3 separate regions of the Homo sapiens genome follow, and regions 2 and 3 are each linked to region 1. The links are contacts of gene promoters, found by promoter capture Hi-C in blood cells and fetal thymus (Javierre and others, 2016). All regions are on one chromosome and are shown on one strand. Each heading gives the region's core, a stretch centred on a gene start or on the middle of the fragment in contact. The rest is flanking DNA. Distances are from core to core; before and after follow the strand shown. Region 1 holds the start of BAIAP2L2 (BAR/IMD domain containing adaptor protein 2 like 2). Region 2 overlaps FAM227A (family with sequence similarity 227 member A). Region 3 holds the start of LOC105373030 (a long non-coding RNA gene).

Evidence for each region. The method cuts DNA at HindIII sites, captures the fragments that hold promoters and counts their contacts. A CHiCAGO score of 5 or more calls a contact.
Region 2: a fragment that was not itself captured here is called in contact with the fragment with the promoter of BAIAP2L2 in region 1 in 3 of 17 cell types (naive B cells, endothelial precursors and total B cells); the score reaches 7.6 in naive B cells.
Region 3: a fragment that was not itself captured here is called in contact with the fragment with the promoter of BAIAP2L2 in region 1 in 1 of 17 cell types (endothelial precursors); the score reaches 6.1 in endothelial precursors.

What each region holds. Positions count from the first base shown.
Region 1 is chr22:38,108,068-38,112,282 of GRCh38, reverse strand. It overlaps BAIAP2L2 (BAR/IMD domain containing adaptor protein 2 like 2), which reads left to right and starts at 1,599. Exons shown (of 14, transcript NM_025045.6): 1 at 1,599-1,808; 2 at 3,075-3,150; 3 at 3,942-4,028. The coding sequence starts at 1,758. It overlaps PLA2G6 (phospholipase A2 group VI), which reads left to right. Exons shown (of 17, transcript NM_003560.4): 17 at 1-788. The coding sequence ends at 122. The HindIII fragment of the contact is 13,026 bases long and covers 1-4,215 here.
Region 2 is chr22:38,581,880-38,586,094 of GRCh38, reverse strand. It overlaps FAM227A (family with sequence similarity 227 member A), which reads left to right. Exons shown (of 17, transcript NM_001013647.2): 17 at 1-4,215. Among named protein-coding and RNA genes, the nearest start is that of DMC1, 14 kb to the right of the region's middle. RefSeq lists a silencer at 284-484 and an enhancer at 3,029-3,078. The HindIII fragment of the contact is 3,497 bases long and covers 539-4,035 here.
Region 3 is chr22:38,423,146-38,427,360 of GRCh38, reverse strand. LOC105373030 (a long non-coding RNA gene) reads left to right here and starts at 3,143. Exons shown (of 5, transcript XR_938254.4): 1 at 3,143-3,519; 2 at 4,183-4,215. LOC101927183 (a long non-coding RNA gene) reads right to left here and starts at 3,083. Exons shown (of 3, transcript XR_938252.3): 1 at 2,938-3,083; 2 at 2,389-2,548. It overlaps KCNJ4 (potassium inwardly rectifying channel subfamily J member 4), which reads left to right. Exons shown (of 2, transcript NM_152868.3): 2 at 1-1,034. The coding sequence ends at 566. The HindIII fragment of the contact is 1,005 bases long and covers 1,930-2,934 here.

The DNA of each region.
Region 1 (4,215 bases), core at 350-2,849:
ACATCATGCTGGATGAGGTCAGTGACACAGTGCTGGTCAACGCCCTCTGGGAGACCGAGGTCTACATCTATGAGCACCGCGAGGAGTTCCAGAAGCTCATCCAGCTGCTGCTCTCACCCTGAGGGTCCCCAGCCTCTCACCGGCCCCAGCTGACCTCGTCCATTCAGCCCCTGCCAGGCCAAGCCCAGCCACTGCCCTCCCGGGCAGATCTGGGCCCAGGCACCTCTGAGTCCATAGACCAGGCCTGGGAGAATGCCAAGCTGCCTGCCCGAGGCTGGTCCTGAAGGCCTGTCTCCCACTAACCCCGCCTTCCAGCACTTTCTGTCATTCCAGGCTGGGAAAGTCTAGAGCCCCCTTTGGCCCCTTTCCCTGACTGTCAAGGACAACTGACTCCCCCATCAGCTCAAACATTAAGGGTACCCGGGCACAACCGTACCCCTGCCCCCAGCCCCAGCCTCCCTGAGGGCCTGCCGGGCTGCCTCTGCCCCAGCCCCCAGCAAGGGCACTCCCAGGCTTCCTGGTGGGTGCAGCCCACTCCCTCTGCCCTCTGCTCCGTTCCCTGGGGGCTGGGACTAAAGAAATGGGTGTCCCCCACCCCATCAGCTGGGAAAGCCCAGGCCGCAGGAGTGGGATGCCCGTTGGACTTTGCCCCTCACACTGGCCCAGCCCCTCACACTGCCCCACCCCGAGAACCCTCAGCTCTCAAAGGTCACTCCTGGGAGTTTCTTCTTCCCAATGGAAGTGGCTTAAGAGCCAAAACTGAAATAAATCATTTGGATTCAAGTTCACCTGTGTTGTGTGTGCAGTGGTGTGAGATCCACCTGTTCCCCTGACCCCCGGCTCCCCTCGGCCTTGACCCTTGGCCTTGACCGGACTTTTCCTTTGTACCCGGACACTCTGTTTTCCAGGATCCCTGGGCAGGGACACCTCCTCTTTCCTCTAGGCCTCCCCTAAACCGGCCCTTAGGGTATGCAGAGGCAGCTGCCAGGCCCACATACCCCCGGCAGGCCCAAGGAGGGCCACAATCTTCAACTTCATCTTGGAGGACCAGGGAGAGCCCCATTTGTCACCCAGAGAGGCCGGGGACTCCGCGTGGACAGGCAGCGCGTGTGCAGGGCCGAGGTCTGCCCAGGGCTGGGCAACTCCAGCGTTTGTGCTGCTCCTGCTCCGGCAAGTGGAGGAGCTGGGCGGGCCAGAGCGGCTGTGGGAGCCAAGCTCAGAGGGCGTGGCCCCACTGTGAGCCGCAGGCCTGAGGACAGTGAGAAGTAAAGCGGCGTTCCCCTCCAGGGGCTGCTGCTGCTGGGTCTGGCAGAGAGAGTCCTGGGGGAGGGCATCGGGCAGCGCCCGCCCAGTAAGGTGGGCAATGCCTGGTATAGGCAGGTGGGAGGGCGGGGCCCCCCAGGGTTGGGGTCCTTGAGGAGGGGGTGACCCAGGAGGGGGCTCATCCACATGGGCACTTGTATCAGCCCACAGCTCCAAGGGGTGAATAATTGAAGGGCAGGTCACACGAGCCTGCCCGGCACAGGATGCCTTCCCTGCCGGATCTGGTTACGCCCCAGATCACATTCTGACATCCCGAGTTGGTGAATAATTAAGCTGCCACTCCTCTGAGGCAGGCCTCCATCTCCAGGTCCCTCTCCGAGGCTTCCTCGCTGCCAGCTGAGTCGTGGGCACCTGAGGGACTACCTACCACTGCTCCCGGCTGTGCCATCGCCACCAGCTCCCAGCCTCCTGCTCAGACCCGGGACAGCCCCTCCATGGCCCCCGAGATGGACCAGTTCTACAGGTCCACCATGGCCATCTACAAGGTGAGCACATGGGTGGCCAAGCCAGGCCTGAGCCCCTCCTCCCAGGGCACAGAAATCAGGCCCGCTCTGGAGGACGGAGGGCCAGCCGGGGCTACAGATGTCCTGGAAAGGGAAGCCTGGAGCCAGGCTGGGCCAGGGGTGGGTACGGGGGTAAGGATCCCCGAGAGCACTCAGCCATACAGCGGGAACCCCCAACTCCCAGATGCTGGACAAGGCAGGAGGGAGCCCAAGGCCCAGGGTGGGGAGAGTTGAGTCTGGATGAGAAGGGCCTGGCTGCCCGGCCTGGGAATAAAGAAAGACCCTCCCTCTCTCTCTCTGTCTCTCCCTCTCTCTCTCTCTCTCTCTCTCTCTCTCCCTCTCTCTCTCCCTCTCTCTGTCTCTCTCTCTCTCTGTCTCTCTCTCTCTCTGTCTCTCTCTCTCTCTCTGTCTCTCCCTGTCTCTGTCTCTCTCATTTCTGAGCCCCTCAGACTTCCTACTTCACCCCCGGGGGGTTGTTGCAGCCGCCACAGACATTTATTGAGCGCCTCCTGTGTGCAGGACCCTTTCACCTGGAGGCCTCACACCACCCACCTGTGAGGTGGAAAATGACCACCCTGCTTGATAGATGAGAAAACTGAGACCAAAGAGGTTAAACAGCTCATTCAAGGTCACGGAGGGAGGAAGAGGTGCTGCTGGGATTTGAACCGAGACCCAAGTCCAAGTCCAGGCCCAAGTCCAGGCCCGTCTTCACCATCCGGGGAGCTCTCTGCCCGGCCCCAGCCCGAGGAGGCCCACACTAATCCAGCCACAGCCTTGCCCATGGGGGGCTGTTCTCGGAGGAGGGCGAGAGCTGCCCTTGCCCCGGGGGTGACTGTTGGCAGCCCCAGGCGTGTAGCCCGGCAAGGCCTGGACACAGGGCAGGGCTGAGCCGTGCCCAGTGGGGACCACAGCAGGCGGGCCAGCTTCTGCCCAGCGGGAGGAGGAGAACCTTCCAGGTGCACCATCTCGGGAGGCACCTCGGTCCCGCCAGAGCAGACGTAAGCGGGAGCTGGCTGTGAGGGGACCACAGCTTAGAACAGGACCCCAAAAGATGGGCTCTGAGGTCCCTGCAGCCAAGAGCCAGGATTCTGGGTGAGCCTAGGTTTGTAGATGGGCCCCCCAAAGTCTGGGGCTTCTCACTGGGCTGGGGGTGCCCTGTCCCTGACGCCTGGTGACTTGACTCCATCCGTGGTTCCTTCTCGCTCCCCCATCTCTACACCTTTTTCCTCCCCTGACCCTGGGGTCCAGAGCATCATGGAGCAGTTTAACCCCGCCCTGGAGAACCTGGTGTACCTGGGCAACAACTACCTGCGTGCCTTCCACGGTGAGTGCCTGCCCGGGCCACCGAGCCCCAGCCCTGGGCCTCTGCTGTTCCCACCCACCCAGGCCCCTCCCAGATTCTCTGCATCCCACACCTGTTCATCCTCAACCCTACACCCTCCTACCCACCACCCTCACCCTCACACCTCTGCAGCCAGAGAGGCCTTATGCACCCCCACTCTCCTGTGCCCACGCACCCCAGTCCACACCCAGCACCCCTCATTGCCCCCTCCTTCAGGTGCCTCCAGACACTCCCATGATGCAGTACCAGGCCCTGCAGGCCCACACAGCCCCAGGGCAGCCCCTGACAGTGCATACATTTCTAGGCGTCACCTGGATGCCACCAGCTGAACCCACCCCTATACTCAGTCCCACCTCTGCACCCAGGCTCACACAGCAGCTGGCTTCCTCACTTCAACTGGCCACCACCCACACACCCTGCAGCTGGCCTTGACATTCACTCGGTCCCCGTGCAAACCCTTGTACCCGTCCGCTGTGGCCGCTCATACCTGCCAATAGCACCCCACTACCCACCAGTGCTGATCAACCCTGAACCTCAGGGCCTCCCATCCCCCTGCTTCTTAGATGCTTTCCACGCCACCTCCCTGCCCCCAGCCCTCACCTTATGCCCCTGCACCTGAGTTTCACAGCTCAACTGGTCACACCCTCCTCAGGGGCACACACAGATGCCCACACCCCACCCAGGACAGACACAGTCCCCTCCAGATGAAAAGAGCCTCCAGAAGGGTGGGGCAGAGGCAGGGCTGGACCAGACCTGTCCCTTCTGGTCCACAGCTCTGTCCGAGGCGGCCGAGGTCTACTTCAGTGCCATCCAGAAGATTGGGGAGCGTGCCCTGCAGAGCCCCACCTCACAGATTCTGGGTGAGGCTCCCCCTCCACAGCAGACCCCATTCTTGGGCCCTCCTTTTGCACCCTTGCCCTTCCAGGATGTCCCGAGTCCCTGACACAGGCCTTTCAGCCCAGGGCCCAGAGCCAGACTCTTGTTCTGGGGCCCAGGCTCCCCGCCACCACTCCCTGCCGGGCTGCTCCCAGGCTGGGACACACATGG
Region 2 (4,215 bases), core at 1,038-3,537, 470 kb before region 1:
CTACAGAATCCGTGATATTTCTGCTACGAGGTGGAGTGGAACAAGAAAATAAGAAAATTGTGGCCAAAGACAGAAATAGGAATCATGATTTCTCCATAGGGGAAGGATTCCGTTGTAGTTTTTCCTAGGCTGAGTGAAAAGCAGGAGTAGAGAGTTGGTGCTTGGGTCACTACATTTATTCATAGATTTACTCTTTCAGTATTTTATTACGTGCATGCTGGTAAGTATGTTACAAATATGACCTCATACAAAGGTAAAACTTTCATACCAGCCGTATGAAGTAGGGATTATCCACTGCATTTTACGCAGCAGCAAGCCCAGGTTTAGAAAGGTTTCCGAAGTTCTCTGCTGTAGACACTGGGTAATTAACAGTAGATAAGACACAGTCCCTGTTCTCAAGGGAGTCACCATCTGGTAGAGGGAAGACAGATGTATCAACACATTAAATGCTGTAAGTATTGGACAGAGGAAAAAGAGAAAAGTGTTGTGAGGGAAAAGGAAAATGGGCCTAGAGGAGTGCAATTTTTTGTAACAAGCTTTGTGGAACTATTAATTTGATAATTTGATAGGCGCTTCTATTATGCTGCCTCTGAACCTTTGCCTCCTGCTCCTCTAACCACTGGGATTGCCAGCCTATTTCCAATATGCCCTCTTTCTGCCTGGCAAACATCTTGTCTTTTCTAAACTCAGCCCAGGGACATGACATCTGTAATGTGTTTCTGTGTGACTCCCAGGCTTCTGCCTTCTTAACCTCTCACCTTCCAGCTCATTTGAGTGAATCTTTGTCCAAGAATTGAGAGAAACTTTATAGGTAAAGCATGCACATGTTGTCTGATTTAATCTAAAATAGAAATAAGAAAACAAAAAATAATACTGCAACTAGGGACACATTTAGTCACTCCCAGTTCATGAGACAAGGAATAGTAAAGTTCATTCCTACCATAGCAAAAGTCAGGATTTAAATGTAAATTAATTTTTTTAATTAAAAAATTTTAAATTAGGCCAGGCGTGGTGGCTCACACCTGTAATCCCAGCACTTTGGGAGGCTGAAGTGGGCAGATCACGAGGTCAGGAGTTCGAGACCATCCTGGCCAACATGGTGAAACCCCATCTCTACTAAAAATACAAAAATTAGCTGGATGTTGTGGCGGGCACCTGTAATCCCAGCTACTCGGGAGGCTGAGGCAGAAGAATCGTTGGAACCCAGGTGGCGGAGGTTGCAGTGAGCCAAGACCATGCTATTGCACTCCAGCCTGGGCAACAAGAGCGAAACTCTGTCTCAAAAAAAAATTTTTTTTAATTAATTTTAACTAAATTAAATTTTTTAGAGGCAGACTCTCAGTCTGTTGTCCAGGCTGGAATGCAGTGGCGCAGTCATAGCTCACTGCAACCTCAAATTCCTGGGCTGAAGCAATCCTCCCACCTCAGCCTCCCAAGTAGCTAGGACTACAGGTATGCCACCATGTCTGGCTAATTTTTAAAGAAATTTTTTTGTAGAGATGGGATCTCACTGTGTTGCCCAGGCTGGTCTCGAACTCCTGGCTTCAAGTAATCCTCCTGCCTTGTCCTTCCAAAGCACTGGGATTCTAAGTGTGAGCCACCACACCTGGCCTGGAGTATCTAATATTGTATAACATAATAATAGTAATCATAGGTGATGTCATTTATTGAGTACTTAGTATGTGCTGAGTGCTCTGCTAAGTCTGGTTTAGACATTATCTCAGTTAACCTTCCTGGTGTCCCCCAAGATGGATATTGTTACCTCCATTTTCTCCTAGGAAGAAACGGACTTGGGGGGGATGATTAGGTATTTGCTAGATGTCTATTCTGTACCATCCCTGCACTAGGCCCTGTGAATACAGAGATAAATAAAGACACAGTCCCTGACCTTATGGGGCTCACAATCTGGAAAAAAGAGAAGGATGTGTAAACCAATAAATGCATTAATGCTCCGATAGAAAGCTGCGTGGAATCTGAGAAAAACCAAGGCAGATGAAGCCAGTGTGCCAGCAGCCCTTTGGGACAGAAGATATTTCACTGAGGGGCACAGGCACAGGGGTTGGTTTGCCAAAGGACCAGCAGCTGGGCTGAAGGGCATAGGTTTTATCATTTGAGCTTCAAGGCACAAGGCAGTGACCTGGTCTGTGCTAGAACAGTTCACCTGTCACAGCCAAGAGGAAAGAAATGGTGCAGATGGCTGTTTGCCCAAACCAAGCAGCAGATAAGCAGATCTTGGGAAATGTAGCTCATCCCTCAGACACACATCTTTACTTGAATCCTGAGTAGAACTCTAGGTGACCCCCTTGGAGGCTATTACTCATGTAAAAGGGGATGAAGGAAAGGTAAGAGAGAAGGAGCTTAGGCTTTGGCATGAGAAAATTTGGGCCTTTGAATCCCTGCCCTGCTTCACCATATGGATGTGTGACTCAGCATAGTAGCTGTGCATCTTGACCTTTCTGAACGTGCTTTCTTGACTGCAGAAAGGGAATGCCTGCCTAGGAGGGTTGTTGTGAGGATTAGATGAGATAATTTGTGCAAAGTTCTTGGCACAGTACTTTTCACTTTGTAATTGCCACAAGCTGTTATTGTTGTTATTGCTGTTATAAAGTGTACTCTTCTTGGCCGGGTGCAGTGGCTCATGCCTGTAATCCCAGCACTTTGGGAGGCCAAGGCAGGTGGATCGCCTGAGGTCAGGAGTTTGAGACCAGCCTGGCCAACGTGGCGAAACTCCATCTCTACTAAAAATACAAAAAAATTAGCCGGGCACAATGGCAGGTGCCTGTAACCTCAGCTACTCAGGAGGCTGAGGCAGGAGAATCACTTGAACCCGGGAGGTGGAGGATGCAGTGAGCTGAGATTGCACCATTGCACTCCAGCCTGGGTAACAAGAGTGAAACTCCATCTCAAAAAAAAAAAAAAAAAAGTATAGTCTTCTGAAACCAGAACGTGTGAGCACCTGCCGAGTACAAGGCACCATGTGGGGCAGATAAGCAGAACACTCTCTCACCTTCCCTTTACTACCCCAGCCACTGTCAACTCTTCATTTGCAGTTTCTCTAGGAACCACACTTTCCTATTTCTGGATCTTTTGTCTGTTGCTGCTTCTGGACCTGAAAATGCCTTCTCCTCCCTCCTCTTTGTTAACTGCCAACATCACTAATTCCTGCTCTTCCTCCAGGACCCCGCTTAGACGTCCCTCATCTTGGGAGCCTTCCCTAATATACCAGGAGCAAGGTAGGCACAAGTGCTCCACTGCATTATGCTCCAACAGCATTCTGTGCCATCCCATTATGGCAGCAGTTACCATAGTAGATTGGAATTGCCTGTCTACCTATCCACCGCTACTATTAGCCCCCATACAGCAAGAAGGTCTCCTTATTTTCTAAGCCCAGGACAAACTGCATTTCTGTCTGTCAGGACCATTTGTTGCACAGTCCAAGATCATCCCTGCATGGACCCTTTCCAGAAATGACTGAGGACTCAGAGTTGTAGCCTCTCAGGATGTTAAATATGAAGAAACCTGTCTCTGCCCTTTGTAAACATTAGAAGGGAAAATTATGGGGAAGAATTATTTGCCCTTTATAAGGGAAGCGGGGTAGAGCATCAAAGGGAACTAACATTTAAAAAGCATTTGCTGTAATGTGGGATAAAGCAAATGAGTAATTGTATGATATTCTAATTCTGTCATTCCCAGTGTTGCTGAAAACCCATACTCTCAGCATGGAAGAAGATAAATTCAGATGTTAAACTAGAAGAGATGAAGTTAAAATCCTATAGTCCTGATTTTGAATTGCTTATGAATTGATGATGAAATGTATGTTTTAGAACATACAGTTTCCTGAAGAACAGGAGGGATAGCTGGAGAGGGGATAGGAGGGAAGCTGGAAGGGGTTACAAAGAGGCCCAAATAAACTTTTGGGGGTGACAGATATGTCTACTATCTTGATTGTGGTGAATGGCTCATGGGTGTATACACACCTAAATACACTTTAAATGTGTGCAGTTTCTCATATGTCAATTATACTTCGATAAAGCTTTGTTAAAAAACGAACAGGCCAGGCATGGTGGCTCACACCTGTAATCCCAGCACTTTGGAAGGCCAAGGCAAGAGGATTGCTTGAGGCCAGGAGTTTGAGACCAAACAGGACAACATAGTGAGACCTTGCCTCTACAAAAACATAAAAAATTAGTCCGATGTGGTAGTGCATACCTATAG
Region 3 (4,215 bases), core at 1,183-3,682, 310 kb before region 1:
CCATCATCATTGTCCACGAGATCGACGAGGACAGCCCGCTTTATGGCATGGGCAAGGAGGAGCTGGAGTCGGAGGACTTTGAGATCGTGGTCATCCTGGAGGGCATGGTGGAGGCCACGGCCATGACCACCCAGGCCCGCAGCTCCTACCTGGCCAGCGAGATCCTGTGGGGCCACCGCTTTGAGCCTGTGGTCTTCGAGGAGAAGAGCCACTACAAGGTGGACTACTCACGTTTTCACAAGACCTACGAGGTGGCCGGCACGCCCTGCTGCTCGGCCCGGGAGCTGCAGGAGAGTAAGATCACCGTGCTGCCCGCCCCACCGCCCCCTCCCAGTGCCTTCTGCTACGAGAACGAGCTGGCCCTTATGAGCCAGGAGGAAGAGGAGATGGAGGAGGAGGCAGCTGCGGCGGCCGCGGTGGCCGCAGGCCTGGGCCTGGAGGCGGGTTCCAAGGAGGAGGCGGGCATCATCCGGATGCTGGAGTTCGGCAGCCACCTGGACCTGGAGCGCATGCAGGCTTCCCTCCCGCTGGACAACATCTCCTACCGCAGGGAGTCTGCCATCTGACCTCCAGGCCCGGCCCTCACCACTGCCCACAAGAGCCTCTGCCGGGGGTGGGATGCCAGGACACCCCCTCCCACACTCAGGACAGAGCCAACCCTGGCTCCGTGGACCTTCTGGAGGAAGGTGGGGGTTTCAAAGACTGGGGGACCCCTTCCTCCTGACTCCAGCACCCAGGCCTGGGAAGAGCTCGGCCCCGATCAGCCTGAGTTCCGCCAGCGCCTACTTCTGGTGGCTCTAGGTCCCCGGATCCACCACCCTTCCCCCACTGACTCTTCAAGGACGTGCCCTCTTTGCTCTCAGAACCTTGGGGAAGGTGGCTGGACTGCTGGGCGGGGGACATCTCGGGGTTTCAGGGTGGGCAGGGGGTTAGTTTGGGGAGGGGGGGGTGCGTTTCTTTTGCATGACTGTGGCCTGTTGCTCATGACTTTCTTTTGTAAATATCTATAAATGGAGACAGATGGAGACACCAAATTCACTTTCTGCCGTTTTTACCTGCTGGACAGGGAGATGCAGTCCCTCTCTGTGCACCCCTCCCCACCCAGCCCATCAAGCCTAGCGCCTTCCCCTGCCCAGCTGGCTGGCCCCTTGAGGCCCTCAACGCCAGCCACCTTGGCCCTTGGATGGTGTTGGGTTTGGGTGCAGAGGAGGGACTCTGAGGGGTGGGATGAGGGACCATCCCTCCCTCCCTGCAGTCCCTCCAGCCCCGGGCCCAGCCCAGATTGACAACAGAGTTTGTAACCATATATATATATATATATATATATTTTTTTTTTATTTTTTATTATTATTTTTTTTTCTTGAGACGGAGTTTTGCTCTTGTTGCCCATGCTGGAGTGCAATGGAGCAATCTCGGCTCACTGCAACCTCCGCTTCCCAGGTTCGAGCGATTCTCCTGCCTCAGCCTCCTGAGTAGCTGAGATTACAGGCATGAGCCACCATACTCAGCTAAGTTTTGTATTTTTAGTAAAGATGGGGTTTCACCATGTTGGCCAGGCTGGTCTCGAACTCCTGACCTCAGGTGATCCACCCACCTTGGCCTCCCAAAGTGCTGGGATTACAAGTGTGAGTCACCGCACCCAGCCGTAACTATATATTTTTAATAAAGTACATGGTCCATTAGGGGTAGGCTGGTTGAAGATGGAGGGGTGAGAAGGAGAGAAAGAGAGTGAGCAAGCACACATGTAATTGTGCCTGTGTGTGTCGTGTGTGTGCCTGTGTGTCATGTGTGTGCCTGTGTGTTATGTGTGTGCCTGTGTATGTGGCCCTTTCTGAGTGACTGACCCTTGGAGGGAACTTTACCACCTGCCATTCTCCTTCCGGCGAGTCAATAGAAGGATCTGGAGTTGGCATCAAAGAACCAAAAGCTTTGATGTCAGAGCTTTGTTACCTAGTAGCTGTGTGACTGTCAGCTCTTGGCCTCAGTTTCATCCTCTGCAGAATGGGATTAACCATCCCTCCCGCCTGCAATGATGGGCAGGACAGCCCTGTGTGGACGTCAGCCAACCCTTCCTAACTCAGGTGGAAGTGGGAAGGGCCCACCCGATCCGCACCTCCCTACATACATGCAGATCCACACACCGCTGGTAGAGCTGGCGGCAGGACACTGATGGGAAGGGCACAGGGGCCAGGAAACCTGGTCACAGACTTAACCAAGACAGGCTTGGTCTCTGCTCTCTGTGGGACCTCGGGTAAGTCCCTTCCCTTCTCTGCCTTCGGTTAGCCTATGCTCTATAACCAGCCAGCACAAAACAGAGACCAATGACGCATCCTCTCTTAGGGTCCTGTGGGTGGGCTGGGGTTCCTAGCTGATTTCTCCTGGGCTTACCCGGCAGCTGTGCTCAGCTGGAACATCAGTGGGCCTGGAAAACCCCCGATGAGCCCATGTACATGTCGGCAGCTGGTATGGCTTTCTGGGGTGGTGGTGGGGTTTGGTTCTCCTCCAATAGGCTGCATCACATTCCTTCATGGCGACTCCGGGCAGCAACCTACGAGGGCAAAGGTAGAAGCTGCAAGGTCTCCGGAGGCCTAGCCCCTTGAACTTGGATAACATCATTTCCACTGCAGTCTATCGGCCAGAGTCCAGGTCACGAGGCCAGCCCAGATTCAAAGGGTGGGAAATTAGTTTCCACCTTTTGGGAAAGAGGCAAAGTCACATTGCCAAGGACATGCCGAGCAGGAGGGAGCTGTGGCCATAGTTGGTCATCTATCCCAGAGCCTTGGAGTTTGAGGGTTCCTCCCACCCGACTTCTACTCTACAGGCTGACTGTGTGCCCCAGGCTGAAAGGAAGCAGAAGGCACCCTTCTGGGTCCCAGGGATCTTCCACACAAAGGTGCCAGCTGCCTCTAGAAACAGGGAACCAGCAGGCAAGCTTACCTGCTGTGCAGCACAGCGAGCTGCCTTGTGAATGACCACGTCTCACCAGCCCCGGCAGCATAGCTGCCGTTTGGGTGGATCACTGTGCACCCCGTATGCTGCGCTGCTGCAGAAGGAAACTTGAGGCCTCTTTCCTGGAGACAGAGCCAAGCTCAGGATCCAAGCCTCCCAATAGATAACTCATAATGTCTCTCATTTGCATAACACCTTTCACGTCCTTGGGTTCATTGAACTCTTACGAAACTCCAAGAGGAAGCCAGGACAAGGATTATGGCCTCCTTTTACTGATGAGGAAATAAATAGAGGCCCAGAGAACCAGGGGGCTGGCTGGAAACAAAGTGAGGACAGTCAGAGGCCCGGGAGCCTGCTTCTCCTTCACTCCATCCTCTCCCAGGTGGGGGCTCAATGAGGGGGAGGGGCTGCTTCCTTTCCTCCTCTGTGCCCTCCCAGATTTCCCAGAGTGCACCTGTGGCCTTTGGCCCCCACCCCCACCGAAGAGCCTGTGGGGGCCGCTCAGCAAGAAGGAAATTCAGTGGCGCATCTGCCCACATTCTGGAAGGACCCCTGGTCCCCTTCTGTCAGGTGAGTACCCCAGGGTCTCAATCCTGACCCTGGAGGCTCATGAGAGATGTCCCTCTATCCAGCCCTGCAGGCCCTGGGTGGGTCTCGCCAGGTCTCCCCACTCCTCCCACCACATCCCCAGGATGCCACGGCTTCCTGGGCTACGAGCAGTAACTGAAGAGGATTCAGGCTCAGGTGCTCCCAGACTCAGAAGCCTCCACCTAGAGCACGTCTTAGGGGATGTCTACCCTCCTCTAAGATGTGCGAGAGGCCCGGATGCAGGGTGGGGAAGGGGTACATGTGGGGTTACCCCCAAGAGGGCCCATCATCCACCATCCAGAGCAACATGGGGCGTTCCAAGGTCCCCCCAGGCCCTTCACCAGCTTGCAGCTTGCTCATATGCTTGTGGTAGTTGCTCTTTTGGGAGAGGCCTGGTCTCTCTGGTCACATGCAAGGTGACCTGTGGCAGGGTCACACAGAAGAGGCAAGTGAAAGCCCAAAGCCAGGACTTCTGGAGTGCCAAAGGGCAGTGCCAGTGTGGGCACTGGGGGAGGGGGCCACGCGGTGCCGAGAGCCCGCAGCTGCAGGGAGGCTCCCAGGCCTGGCTGCGCTGCAAACTCCTGCTGGCTCAGCTCTGCTCGGGGCTGACTCACCTTCCCTCTCCCACCTGTTCCCCTTTCACAGCCCTCCCACCTGCCTCCCTCCTCGTGCCGCTCC